Linked DNA regions of Homo sapiens: region 1 is linked to region 2. Evidence: promoter capture Hi-C in human tissues and cell types (Jung and others, 2019). All regions are on one chromosome and are shown on one strand. Each heading gives the region's core, a stretch centred on a gene start or on the middle of the fragment in contact. The rest is flanking DNA. Distances are from core to core; before and after follow the strand shown.

Evidence for each region. Contacts are between HindIII fragments. The study calls those that stand out against the background at their distance.
Region 1: a fragment that was not itself captured here is called in contact with the fragment with the promoter of NHLRC1 in region 2 in 2 of the 25 tissues and cell types used here (IMR-90 fibroblasts and aorta).

What each region holds. Positions count from the first base shown.
Region 1 is chr6:18,063,217-18,070,206 of GRCh38, forward strand. No RefSeq gene overlaps it. Among named protein-coding and RNA genes, the nearest start is that of NHLRC1, 56 kb to the right of the region's middle. The HindIII fragment of the contact is 4,089 bases long and covers 2,032-6,120 here.
Region 2 is chr6:18,121,427-18,127,825 of GRCh38, forward strand. It overlaps NHLRC1 (NHL repeat containing E3 ubiquitin protein ligase 1), which reads right to left and starts at 1,251. Exons shown (of 1, transcript NM_198586.3): 1 at 1-1,251. The coding sequence starts at 1,180. The HindIII fragment of the contact is 9,942 bases long and covers 210-6,399 here.

The DNA of each region.
Region 1 (6,990 bases), core at 2,826-5,325, 55 kb before region 2:
TATTCCTATTGTGATGGTATTAGGGATCCAAGGTACTCTGTTATAGCCAGAGTGTAAGTTTGCTATGTTTGCATGTAATTGAGTGAGTTTAACTCCATTTTGACAGTCCTTCAGCTAATAACATCTCCCAAAAGAAATCAGGTATACAGATTGCTCTAGAGTTAAATAACAATCATTTTTGTTCACTATTTAAATAAAAACATGTAGGTTTTAGTTTTTGCCTAAATACATGAAATATAAAGACATTTTAATGATAACATACCTTATAAATATTTGCTCACTATAGATAACTTAGAAAAACCAAAAAAAAAAGAAGAAAATAACAAATAAACATATTTTCCACCATGCAAAAACAGCATCAGGAAAATTTTGGTATAGTTCCTTTCAGTGTTTCTCCTGTGTATGTGCAATGCTTTTGTTTCCAGGACTAACTCATAGGCCTTTATGTTTTTTATTTTTTTATTTTTATTTTTTGAGACGGAGTTTTGCTCATGTTGCCCAGGCTGGAGTGCAGTGGCACAATCTCGGCTCACCGCAACCTCAACCTCCCAGGTTCAAGCAATTCTCCTACTCAGCTTCCCAAGTAGCTGGGATTACAGGCATGTGCCACCATGCCCAGCTAATTTTGTATTTTTAGTAGAGACGGGGTTTCTCCATGTTGGTCAGGCTGGTCTTGAACTCCCGACCTCAGGTGATCCGCACCCCCCCCCCCACCCCTTGGCCTCCTAAAGTGCTGGGATTACAGGCATGAGCCACCACGTGCGGCCTGTAGACCTTTATTAATTTACTTTGCATTTTGTTTTAACAGTATAATTTACATATTGAAGTATAATTTGCATACAGTAATATTGTGTACAATTCAGTAATTTTTAGTAAATGTACAGAGTTGTACAACTGTCACCATAATCCAACTTTAGAACATTTCCATCTTGTCAAAAAGAAACTTCATGCCCATTTACACTCAGTCCTTGGTCCAAGCCCCAGCCCCAGGCAACCACTAATCTACCTTCTGTCTCTATAGATTGGCCTATACATCTTCCATTTTATTAGTAAAGTTAGCTTGTTTTTAACAAAGTCATCCAATTTTAATTATATAATTCTTTCAGTCCTATCCAAATGAAATTGAGCAAGTTTAAATAAAGATGGCTGTTGTGAGAGATACAGACATTTGTGGGATGTGTGTGTGTGTGTGTGTGTGTGTTTGCATGTGTGTGTGTTTGCAGATGATGCAAATCTTTTAAAGACTGTGGCATGTTTGCCTCCATTATTTTATGTATTTCTAATTTTCTTTTTGAGATATACTTCATGTAACATAAAATTCACCCTTTTAAATTTGGTGTTTATGCAACTATCAACACTATCTAATTCCAAAACATTTTCATCACCACAAAAAGAAATCCCATCCACACCAGGCCTAGTGGCTCATGCCTATAATCTCAGCCCTTTGGGATGCTGAGGCAGGAGGATCGCTTGAACCCAGGAATTCAAGACCAGCCTGGGCAATATCATGAAATCCTGACTCTACAAAAAAATACCAAAAAAATAGCCTGGTGTGGTAGTGGGCTTCTGTAGTCCCAGCCTCTTGGGAGGCTGTAATAGTCTCTTTTCATGCTGCTGATAAAAACATACCTGAGACTGGGAAGAAAAAGAAGTTTAATTGGACTTACAGTTTCACATGGCTTGGGAGGTCTCAGAATCATGGCAGGGGGCGAAGGCACTTCTCACATGGCGGTGGCAAGAGAAAATGAGGAAGAAGCAAAAGCAGAAACTCCTGATAAACCCATCAGATCTCATGAGACTTATTCACTATCATGAGAATAGCACAGGAAAGACTGGCCCCCATGATTCAATTACCTCTCCCTGGGTCCCTCCCACAACACGTGGGAATTCTGGGAGATACAATTCAAGCTGAGATTTGGGTGGGGACACAGCCAAACCATATCAGAAGCTGAAGTGGGAGGATCACTTGAGCCTGGGAGTTCGAGACTGCAGTGAGACAAGATCACACCACTGCACTCCAGCCTGGGCAACAGAGTGAGACTCTGTCTCAAAAAAAAAAAACCAAAAAGAAATTCCACTCCCATTATCAGTCACTCCCCATTCCCCTCCCCCACCCAGCCCTTGGGAACCACTGCTAAACCAGGGGTCCCCAACCCTGGGGCCGTGGACCAGTACCAGTTGGTGGCCTGTTAGGAACTGGGCCACACAGCAGGAGGTGAGTGGTGGGTCAGCGAGCATTACCGCCTGAGCTCCGCCTCCTGTCAGATCAGTGGAGGCATTAGATTCTCATAGGAGCCGGAACCCTATTGTGAACTGTGCATGCAGGCATCTAGGTTGCGTGCTCCTTATGAAAATCTGATGCCTGATGATCTAAAGTAAAACAGTTTCATCCTGAAACCATCCCCTCACCGCTCCCCGCTACCTCCCAACGGGTCCATGGAAAAATTGTCTTCCACAAAACCGGTCCCTGGTGCCAAAAAGGTTGGGGACCACTGTGCTAAACTACTTTGTGTCTCTATGGATTTGCCTGTTCTGGACATTTTGTATAAACAGAATCACACGGTAGGTGGCCTTCTGTGTCTGGCTTCTTTCACTTAGCACAACAATATTTTCAAGGCTCATTCATGTTTTAGCCTGTGTCAGTACTTTATTCTTTTGTTTGTTTCATAAAACAAACACAAAACAGTCTCACTGTGTCACTCAGGCTGGAGTGCAGTGGTGCGATCTTGGCTCACTGCAGCCTTCACTTCCTGGGTTCAAGAGATTCTTGTGCCTCAGCCTCCTGAGTAGCTGGGATTACAGGCACGTGCCACCAGGCCTGGATAATTTTTGTATTTTTAGTAGAGGCAGGGTTTCACTGTGTTGGTCAGGCTGGTCTTGAACTCCTGACTTCAGGTGATCCACCTGCCTCGGCCTCCCAAAGTGCTGAGATTACAGGTGTGAGCCACTGCACCGGGCCAGTGCTTCATTCCTTTTTATGCCAAATAACATTCTATTTTATGAATATGTCACATTTTGTTTATTCACTAATCTGTTGATGGACATTGAGGTTGTTTCTACTTTACTTAATAATATTTTAGTTAATATAACTTAACTAGTGGAAAGGGGAGAAAATTATTACTGGGGTGGTATGATATTATATGTATGTTGGTTTTTGTCCACAATTCCTGGCTCATAACTCCCATAGCCCTTGTTAATTTCCTAAGTGACTAAAATAGTAAGCATATCTTTCCTTAACATATTGTTCCTTAACATATTGTTCCTTAACATATCTTTTGTCCTTGATTCCTGAAGCAGCTTCCGAATGGCTCCAGAGCAATAAAGGTGAGACAATCTTTTGTTATAATATTGGGGCATTTTAGGCCTTAGAAAACAGAATCTCACTCTCTGACCTCCTGCCCCCCTTTTATCTTCTTTTTCTCCTCCATGCAGGCTACAGAAACTAAAAATATATTCTAATCTTCTGACTTGAAATTCTCTGAACTGCCTTCCTTGTCTGATTTTAGGTTGTAAGACCCCCAGTCCGAAGGGGTCCTGTCCCATACTCGGGAAGAAGGAACGCTGCATAGACAGGCCAGGAAGAATCTCGGCCTTACCGGGTTTCCCCACTCAATCTATAAGCATTAGATCATACTCTTTTTGTCCAATCACAGTTCTCCTTGGTTGTCAATCATACCTATCCAATAAAATCTCCATAAAAGGCCCAAGAGGATAAGGTATGGGAAACTTTTGCACAGCTGAAGTTCTGGAGGCTTGCAAGAAAATGAACAAGAATTCATCCGCCTGCCGGGAGGGTGGCGCATCCCTCTCCACGGGAACTGAGGCTCCTGCAGTCAGGACCCTTTCAGACCTCACCCTATGTATCTCTTCATCTGGCTATTTATTTGTATCTTTTAAAATAGCCTTTAAAATAAATCAGTAAACCTAAGTGTTTCCCTGAGTTTTGTGAGCCACTTTTAGCAAATTAATCGCGCATAAAGTGGTGGTCACCCAACTTGAAGTGGATTGGTCAGAAGTTCAACAGGCTTGGGCTTGCAACTGGCGTCTAAAGGAAAGGCGATCTTGTGGGACTGAGCCCTCAGTCTGTGGGATCTGACACTATCTCCAGGTGGATAGCGTCAGAATTGAATTGGAGAACACCCAGCTAGTGTCTGCGGCAGAACTGATTGCTTCCTGTTAGTGGGGAAAAAATCCCCACACATTTGGTCACAGACATCTTCAGTGTTGATTTTTGTGGTGTGAGAGCACACGTAGTGTATCTGCACTTCTCTAATAATCTCAAGAATACATTGGCCGGGCGCAGTGGCTCACGCCTGTAATCCCAGCACTTTGGGAGGCTGAGGCGGGCGGATCACAAGGTCAGGAGATTGAGACCATCCTGGCTAACACGGTGAAACCCCGTCTCTACTAAAAATACAAAAAATTAGCTGGGCGCGGTGGCGGGCGCCTGTAGTCCCAGCTACTCAGGAGGCTGAGGCAGGAGAATGGCGTGAACCCGGGAGGCGGAGTTTGCAGTGAGCTGAGATCGCGCCACTGCACTCCAGCCTGGGCGATACAGTGAGACACTCCGTCTCAAAAAAAAAAAAAAAAAAAAAAAAAAAAAAAAAAAAAAAAAAAGAATACATTAACTGAAATTTATAGTAGAGAACACAATGATATCATAAAGAAAAATAAAACAGAAAAGATATTAACATAAGAGCTAAGCTTTTTTTTTTTTTTTTTTTTTTTTTTTGAGACGGAATCTCGCTCTGTCACCCAGGCAGGGGTGCAGTGGCACAATCTCGGCTGAGCTCACTGCAACCTCCGCCTCCTGGGTTCAATCGAGTCTTGTGCTTCAGCCTCCTGAGTAGCTGGGATTACAGGCGCACAGCACCGAGTCTGGCTGATTTTGTATTTTTAGTGGAGACGGGGTTTTACCACGTTGGCCAGGCTGGTCTCGAACTCCTGACCTTAAGTGATCCGCCCACCTCGGCCTCCCAAAGTGCTGGGCTTACAGACGTGAGCCACCCCACCTGGCCGAGCTAAGCTTCTTTTAAGGCTCTGATTGACATGAAATAACATCTAAGCCCAAATTTCTGTTTATTCAAACTGGAATGAGCAATATGCTCAAAAATTGTTATGAAAACTGAAAAATAACAGAAATTAGAGCTGTATTCTAAGGGTAAAAACACACTTAGAGTAATATTCTGCCAACAAAGAAGCAGTGTATGTGGAGTGGGTGGGAAGTGACAGAGGTGGGCATGTGGATCCTTCTGTTGCTAATAATAAAAATTCCTAGAGCACCGAGTCTCCACATGGCAATGTGATTGAGAAGAACCATATATTACTCCTTTCATTTCCACTCTTTGAGGGAGCCTCTTTGTTCCGAATTTCAGCTGTCCCTCAAAGAGCATGCAGGGCCTTCAGTTGATACAAGGAGGAGCTCATGAAGCCAATTAATTTTTTGTTCCTTCTCACAGTGACAAACTATAATCCTCAACCATTTGTGTTGCAAATATGGGTCATGGTGAGAAACTATGGGCAGTGTGATCTTCAGACTGGCTGTGCATTTACACATTCATGTACACACACACACTCATGCACAAATTCAACTTTCTCAGCTCCAGTCCCACCACAGGACAGCCTATATTTATTAGGTGTCCCAAGTGATTGTGACGTAGCTGATCTATTTTTTTTTTTTTTTGAGACAGAGTCTTGTACCCAGGCTGGAGTGCAGTGGCATGATCTCAGCTCACTGCAACCTCTGCCTCCTGGGTTCAAGCAATTCTCCTGCCTCAGCCTCCCGAGTAGCTGGGATTACAGGCATGCACCACCACACCCAGCTGATTTTTGTGTTTTTAGTAGAGACAGGGTTTCACTTTGTTGGTCAGGCTGGTCTCAAACTCCTGACCTCAGGTGATCCACTCACCTTGGCCTCCCAAAATTCTGGGATTACAGGCATGAGCCACTGCACCTGGCCTGAACTGAATTGTGGTTTTGACTTTTTTTTTTTTTTTTTTTTTTTTTTGAGATAGGGTCTTACTCGGTCATCCAGGCTGGAGTGCAGTGGTGCAATCATAGCTCACTGCAACATTGAACTTCTAGGCTCAAGCGATCCTCCTTCCCCAGCCTGCTGAGTAGCTGGGACTATAGGCACATCACCATGCCTGGCTAATTTTTGTATTTTTGGTGGAGTTGGAATCTCACTATGTTGCTCAGGCTGGTCTTGAGCTCCTGGGCTCAAGTGATCCTCCTGCCTCAGCCTCCCAAAGACTCTTTGAAACTAGAGTAAATTGGAATTTTCCCTGCCTCATTTTCCAATAGATTGGCATTTCTCCCATTGTTTAGCCTATAACCTCCACTCACCTCTGGTTTTCTGCTATTTGTCATGAGCTCCTACGGAAGTGCTAAGGGAAGGCAAGGAAGAGGAGGGTATTTGGGAAGGGGAAGGGCAGGGACAGGCCTGCAATCTGTCACCCAGCGAGGCAGCATGGAGGTATGCTACCCAGGTCTCGCTTCAGGAGAACAGGTTGTGGGGAGGGCAGGTGACTGACAGCCCCCAGCCCTCGGGTGTGTTGCAGTGTTCATGCCTGGAACACATCCCCTGAGCTGCTCCCAACCAATGACTGAGCTTGCAGGGGTGCTAGGCCAGATGCTGAAGAACTTGGATTCTCCAGACAGTTGGAGCTGAGCCTGAGCTCAGCTCTTCCCCACCTTCCTGTCTTTTCTCACTCCACAGATGTCACACCTCATTGCAGTCTGAGACTCTACTTTCTCTTATTTCCTCTCCCTTTTTTCCCTCACAGGAACTTCCCTCATAAACTCTTGCTCGTTTTATTAGTCTGCTCTGGCTGCCGATAAAGTACCACAGACTGGGTGGCTTAACAAAAATTAAGCCAATTTATTACTGGGTAGAAGTCCACGATCAACGTGTTGGCAGAGTGGGTTCCTTTGGCGATCTCTCTCCTTGACTTGTAGATGGTTTGGATGTTTGTCCCCTCCAAATCTCAT
Region 2 (6,399 bases), core at 1-2,500:
AGTCAACTTTATAGACTTTTATAGAATGAGATGCTGTGTCCAGCACAAGAAGAGAATTCTCCTTGGTGAAGGTAAGAGCCACAGGATGCGAAAGACCATGAGTGACCATGGGCTTCGGTACTGGAAACTCCTCAGGTTTTCCTAAGCAAAGGATAGCTGGACCAGATGTATCTGCAACAATCACATTTCCCTGGTGATCAAAGGTCACAGCGGAGGCAGTTATTTTGGAGGGAAAGTAGAGGCTCAGCCCAAAGGTATCCACTTGGCCGACAAGCTGCATACTTGAGCTAAACACTTTCACCCTGGTGCTGCAAACCCCAGTCCCCAGGGCCAGGGGGTGCTCCAGGACCGCAATGGCCCCGGTGAGCCAAGACACTGCCACCCCTCGGGGATTGCACAGATGAGCTTGCAACCTTTCAGTTCTCCGAAGGACCCCTTCCGCGAAGTCGACGTCCAGGAGGTGCAGGGACCCTGCCTCCGCATCAGTTACCACAATCCCATTCTGAGGGGTGGTCTCCACACCCCAAGGTAAGGAGAATTGGCCTCCAATGACAAGCTTGATCTGGCCAAAAAAATCAAACACTTTGATGGAGCGATCGCCGGCGTCAGTGACAACCACATGGCAGTCGTTGGTGATGGTGACATCCACAGGGTACCTAATGTCTTGGGCAGCGTCCCCCTTCTCTCCAAACTGATGCGCGCATCCTCCCCCTGAGTCAAAAATCTTGACACGCCTCCTGCCGTCGTGCACCACCACGACACGCCCCGTCTTGGGACAAAGCGCCAGTCCGGTGGGGTTGACCAGGGTCCCCCAGCCGCCGAAGGTGTGGTGGCAGGTGAGGGCTCCGGGGGCGCTGGGGGCGGCGCGATGGGCGGCCGGGGACTGGCGAAGCGCTGAGCCCAGGAGCTCTATGAGGTGCAGCACCGGCAGGCAGTCGCTGGTGTCGCAGCCCCGGCAAGCTCGCCTGCAGAATGGGCACTCGAGGGCCAGAGTGCGCGGGTGCGCCAGGGCGGCCACGCAGGCCAGGCAGACCACGTGGCCGCAGGACAGGTTGCGCGGGCGCCGCTGCTGCCGGTGGCCAAACTTCTCAAAGCACACCTTGCACTCGAGCAGGCTGATCTCCGCCTCGCGCATGAGCTCATGCAGCGCTGGCCCGCTCTCCGAGGCTTCGGCCGCCATGGCGCGTCCTGTGCACTCCCGCCGCGCCGCCTGGCCGTGCCCCAGCGACGCTCTCGGTCACGGTCACAGTCATGGTCACGGGGTGGGACGTGCGCCCTGACGTCGAGCGCCGCGGGCCTCTGCACTGCGATCTGCTGCCCCTTGGTGGGCACGCGCGGCACTGTTTCCTGAGGGCCTGATGGTGGACGTTTGCAAGACAAATCCACATGCGCGTTGTGTAGACCTGTAATCGTCACAGCAGTCATGGATGGATTGTGTACACTTTCAGATGAGGAAACACACCTATTGAGGACAACAGGATTGCTCCCTGTCACCCAGCCTGTAAGCGGCAAAACAAGAACTAGAACCCAATCTTCCAGCCCGGGTGCCTAGCAGTGTCTCCAATCCGCAGCGCCGGGTGCTACGGCTGTCCGGGCATAAAACATGGTCCCTTAGCTCATGATGCTTATGATCTGAACCGGAAAACACGAACACACTAGAGAAGATAAACTCCAAGGGAGGTGAGGCAGATGTGTACATTTCTTTTGTGTCTTCTGTCATACTCATAGTTAAGTCAATGTTAGATGAATACATACTTGTAAAATGAATTTGTGCATGAATGAATGTTATAGAACAACAACAACAACAAAAAAAAATCAACGAGGTGAATGAGTGTCAGATGGGGCAACCATGCTGGAAGTGTCTTGCAGAGTAATTAATATGAAATAAGAAAGCTGTTAGTTAATAATAATTACCATAGAACTTCATTTTTTTGTTTTTTAAGACAAAGTCTCACTCTGTCACCCAGGCTGGAGTGCAGGGGCACGATCACAGCTCACTGCAGCCTCCATCTCCCAGGCTCAAGCAATCCTCCCACTTCAGTAGCTGGGACTACAGGCATGCACCATCACACTAGGCTAATTTTTTAATTTTTTTGTAGAGAGGAGGTCTCACTATGTTGCCTAGGCTGGTCTTGAACTTGTGAAAATTGTTCACATTCCTCCCCACCCCTTGGCCTCCCAAAGTGCTGGTGTGAGCCACTGTGCCCAGCCTATGGAATTCACATATGCCTGCCCCATTGTGTTAGGTTGGTGAAAAGGATTCGCAGTGTTTGCCATCACTTTTAATGGCAAAACCGTGATTACTTTTGCAGCAAATTAATAAATAATTTACATAGATTATCTTGTTTAAACCTCATAGCAATCCTACAAAAATATGTTATTTTTATTGTCTTTTTTTCTGATAGAATTCATAGAAATCAAATATCTTGCCCAGGGTCACATGGCTAGGAAGTGGCTGGCCTGGAATTTGAAGCCAGGCAGTTTGACTTCAGAGTTACCTATTTTAGTCATTTTCAAACTTCTTTGCACATGGTAAACACCTGGGTCGCACCCGAAAAGTTTAATTGGCCCATGGTGTGGTCTGGACAGCTGGGATTTATAAAAGCTCCCCAGGTGATTATAATGTACAGCCAAGTTTGAGAAACACTGCATTATAATAATTCCCTCAAATGACACTAAGTTCAGTTTTTCCAATCTCAGTTAAGACCAAAAACAAAGAGAATTTGCCATATGTTGGAAAATCTTCAAACAAGGGATAGCATAATCTGTGTGAAGAATCCATTGTGGTATTATAATCTCTCATTTTTCTTTTTCTTTCTTTTTTTTTTTTTTCTTTTTGAGACAGAGTCTTGCTCTGTCACCAGGCTGGAGTGCAGTGGCGCGATCTCGGCTCACTGCAGCCTCCACCTCCTGGGTTCAGGCGGTTCTCCCACCTCAGCCTCCTGAGTAGCTGGGATTACAGGCACCCGTGACCATGCCTGGCTAAGTTTTGTATTTTTAGTAGAGATGAGGTTTCACCATGTTGGCCAGGCTGGTCTCAAACTTCTGACCTTTCGCGTCAGCCTCCCAAAGTGCTAGGATTACAGGCATGAGCCACCGTGCCTGGCCCTAAACTCTTATTTTTAAGGGGTTCTCCCTCAAATGTCTTATGTGAACATTGTGCTTAACAAAACCTTGTATTAGAGAATTTCTTTTCCTTTAGAGATCATAATCATGAACATTCACCTTCTGATTTGCTAGATTTCTGAGAAAACACAATATTTTATCCCCTGTTGAGGCCCCTGGAAAGAGCTTTAATGTAAGACAAGAAAGAACATTTTCTAATCAAATGTCATTTGACTCAAAGATTGCGTACTGGGACACAATAACCAACTTAATAATTTCTGACTACATTTCCATCCCAAATAAACAACCAACTAAAATCACATTATTTATGCAATCACACCATTGCATAATTGATTAATAACAAATATGTCTTGAATCTCACTCTGACATTTGGCATTTCCTATGACTATCATTTCCTCCTCCATGGCTGGGCCTCCATGGATTTACCCTGTGCTTCCCTCCGATATTCCTTCTATAGAGGGTCCTGGACTAGCATGCCCATCTTTTCCTGCTTCCACCTAGAACAAGCCCTGAGAGTTGTGGGGGCAAAGGGCTTGAAGAGCAGAACGTCTAGTTTCCAAAGTGGTCAATGGCTGCCCTATGAAAAAGTACCATACTATAGTGGAAGGAGAGTGGGGACCCAGCTCAGGATGGTTCCAGCAGAGAAGAGAGCACAGGGGGAGCATGAGTTAGGGGGAGTCAGTGCTTAGACAGGTGGGCTCCTGGTTGTGCAGGTGGGGCAAATGTGCCAGACACATGCAGTTTAGAAGGAATCCCAGAACAAGTTTAATGATCCAATTACAACTCAGACTACCTGACAATGATGTAAGGGAAAGGAAGATGAACAAGCCACACAGAATGGGCTTTGCTTCCAGCCTTGCCCTCCTCCCAGGGGCGTCTCTGACCACCACTCTAATTTTTAAGCTCCATGTTCTTGGCATCTCAGGGGTGAGGGATGTGGTGGCAAGAGGAAGAATGGCTGTTTTTGAATTTTTTGAGTAAGTCCATACAAAAATGAGTGGAGATGTATGTTTGGAAATGGGGATCTAGAGATTTGAGTGCATCTCAAGTTCAATGCAATTGAGTGTTCCTCAGGGTGCCACCTTCAGTCTTTTTCTCTTAGCTTCCTACCTGTTTCCCTGAGCAATGCCATCTTCACTTCCTCGTGGTTTAAATGACCAGTTATAAGCTGACAGCTCCCTGCCTGTACCCCTAAGACAGCCATACCATATGAAGTTCAATGTTCAGTCCCTACCCCTACAACCTGTGATGCCTGAGAAAAGGATTATCTTCAATAATCAATAAACCTTTATCTGCTAGCACACCCAATAGTACTTAAATTGCTGAATGAATGCTGACTCTAATAGCAGGAGAAAGACTAAATAATAATTGTACTGCCACATTACAACATTATACAGCTATTTAAAAATCTTGCTTTTGAAAAATATTTAGTGACACTGTTACCAGTAGAAGGTTTGACTACAAGTTGTCCAGGTTCTTGGCTTTTTGAACAAAGAATTGGACAAAATGCACAGCAAAGCAGAGAAAGAATGAAGTAACAAAAGCAGAGATTTATTGAAAATGAAAGTGCTCCACAGGGTGGGACCTGGCTGAGCAGTGGCTCAAGGGCCCTGGTTACAGAATCTTCTGGGGTCCAAATACTGCCTAGAGGTTTCCCACTGGCCACTTGGTATTCATCCCATGCAAATAAAGTAGTGGCCCGCAATCAGTCTGATTGGTTGCTTTTGCTTGCTGCAACCAATGAGAGGCCGAAGTGAAGTTACAAAAGTTACACTCCTATGCAAACGTTTGATTGGTTGCAGATGTTTCTGCCACGCAGAAAAGGCTAGGGGCGGTGGGGTGGTGGAGGTTACAAAGGGAGTAGCCTCTGGTCCTTTTGTTACTTAGGCATGGAAAGTTGAGGTTTTCCTTTCAATTTAGTTCTAGGAAGTCAGCATGAATCAGCCTTAGGTTCCCTGCCTCAAGACCCTATTCTCCTGCCTCAACTCCAGGAAGGGTGAATGAAATAGAAAGAAAGATAGTGGAGATACAATACTGTATCGTAATGTGATCACAACAACCTTGTGAAAACATTCACATGTATGAGCAGACAAAAAAGATGAGAAGAAAATACATCACCATCATAGCAGTAATTATCTCCAGTGATAGGACTTGATTGCTTTTCTTTTTCTTTTTAGACTTCCCAAATTTTCAATGCATAAAGGATTATTTGTCATATTTAAATATAAATAACTTAATATTTTATGATATATTTCATTTCTAAATATCTGCCTCGATTATCCTCCTGTTGTCGAAAGTTAACACCAATAGTGAAATAAATTTCTATTAATACCCACTGTTCAGGAATCACAGATTTTCAAGCATATTTTCAGCTCACAAATTACAGCTACACATAAGTAATAAATCTGGGACATGACTATTTTCTGCAAATCGGAATGACTATGCTTAAGGCACATAAATAGAATTCTGTCCAATTCCCACCAGCCACTGGTGAATTTGTCATATAATGTTTTATAAGGCAAAAAGCACATCACATAAGAAGTGATTGGAAAGTCAGAGCTGTAGGGATTAAAGATGATAATTTTTAATTTTAATTTTGTTGTTGTTGTTTTTGTTTTGAGACAGTTTTGCTCGTTGCCCAGGCTGGAGTGCAATGGCTTGATCTCGGCTCACCACAACCTCCACCTCCTGGGTTCAAGCAATTCTCCTGACTCAGCCTCCCGAGTAGCTGGGATTACAGACATGTGCCAACCATGCCCGGCTAATTTTTTGTATTTTTAGTAAAGACAGGGTTTCACCGTGTTGGCCAGGCTGGTCTCGAATGCCCGACCTCAGGTGATCCGCCCACCTCGGCCTCCCAGAGTGCTGGGGTTACAGGCATGAGCCACTGTGCCCGGCCAATAACTGATTTTTTAAAAAGCACTCAGTAGAAATCTTTCTCTGAAACACCTTTCAGAAAGAGTAGGTGTAGGCTGAGCAGCTCTTTGGGAGGCTGAGGTGGGGGGATCACTTGAGGCCAGGAGTTTGAGATCGTGCTGGGCAACATAGTGAGACCTTGTCTCTACTAAAAATAAAAAAAAAAATTAGCTGGGTGTGGTGGCACACACCTGCAGTCCTGTCTACTCAGGAGGCTGAGGCAGAAGGATTGCTTAAGCCTAGGAAATTGAGGCCGCAGTGAGCTATAATCACACCACCGTACTCCAGCCTGGGCGACAGAGTGAGACCCTGTCTCAAAATAAAAAAAAAAAATAAGGAGTAGGTGCGACATAAACA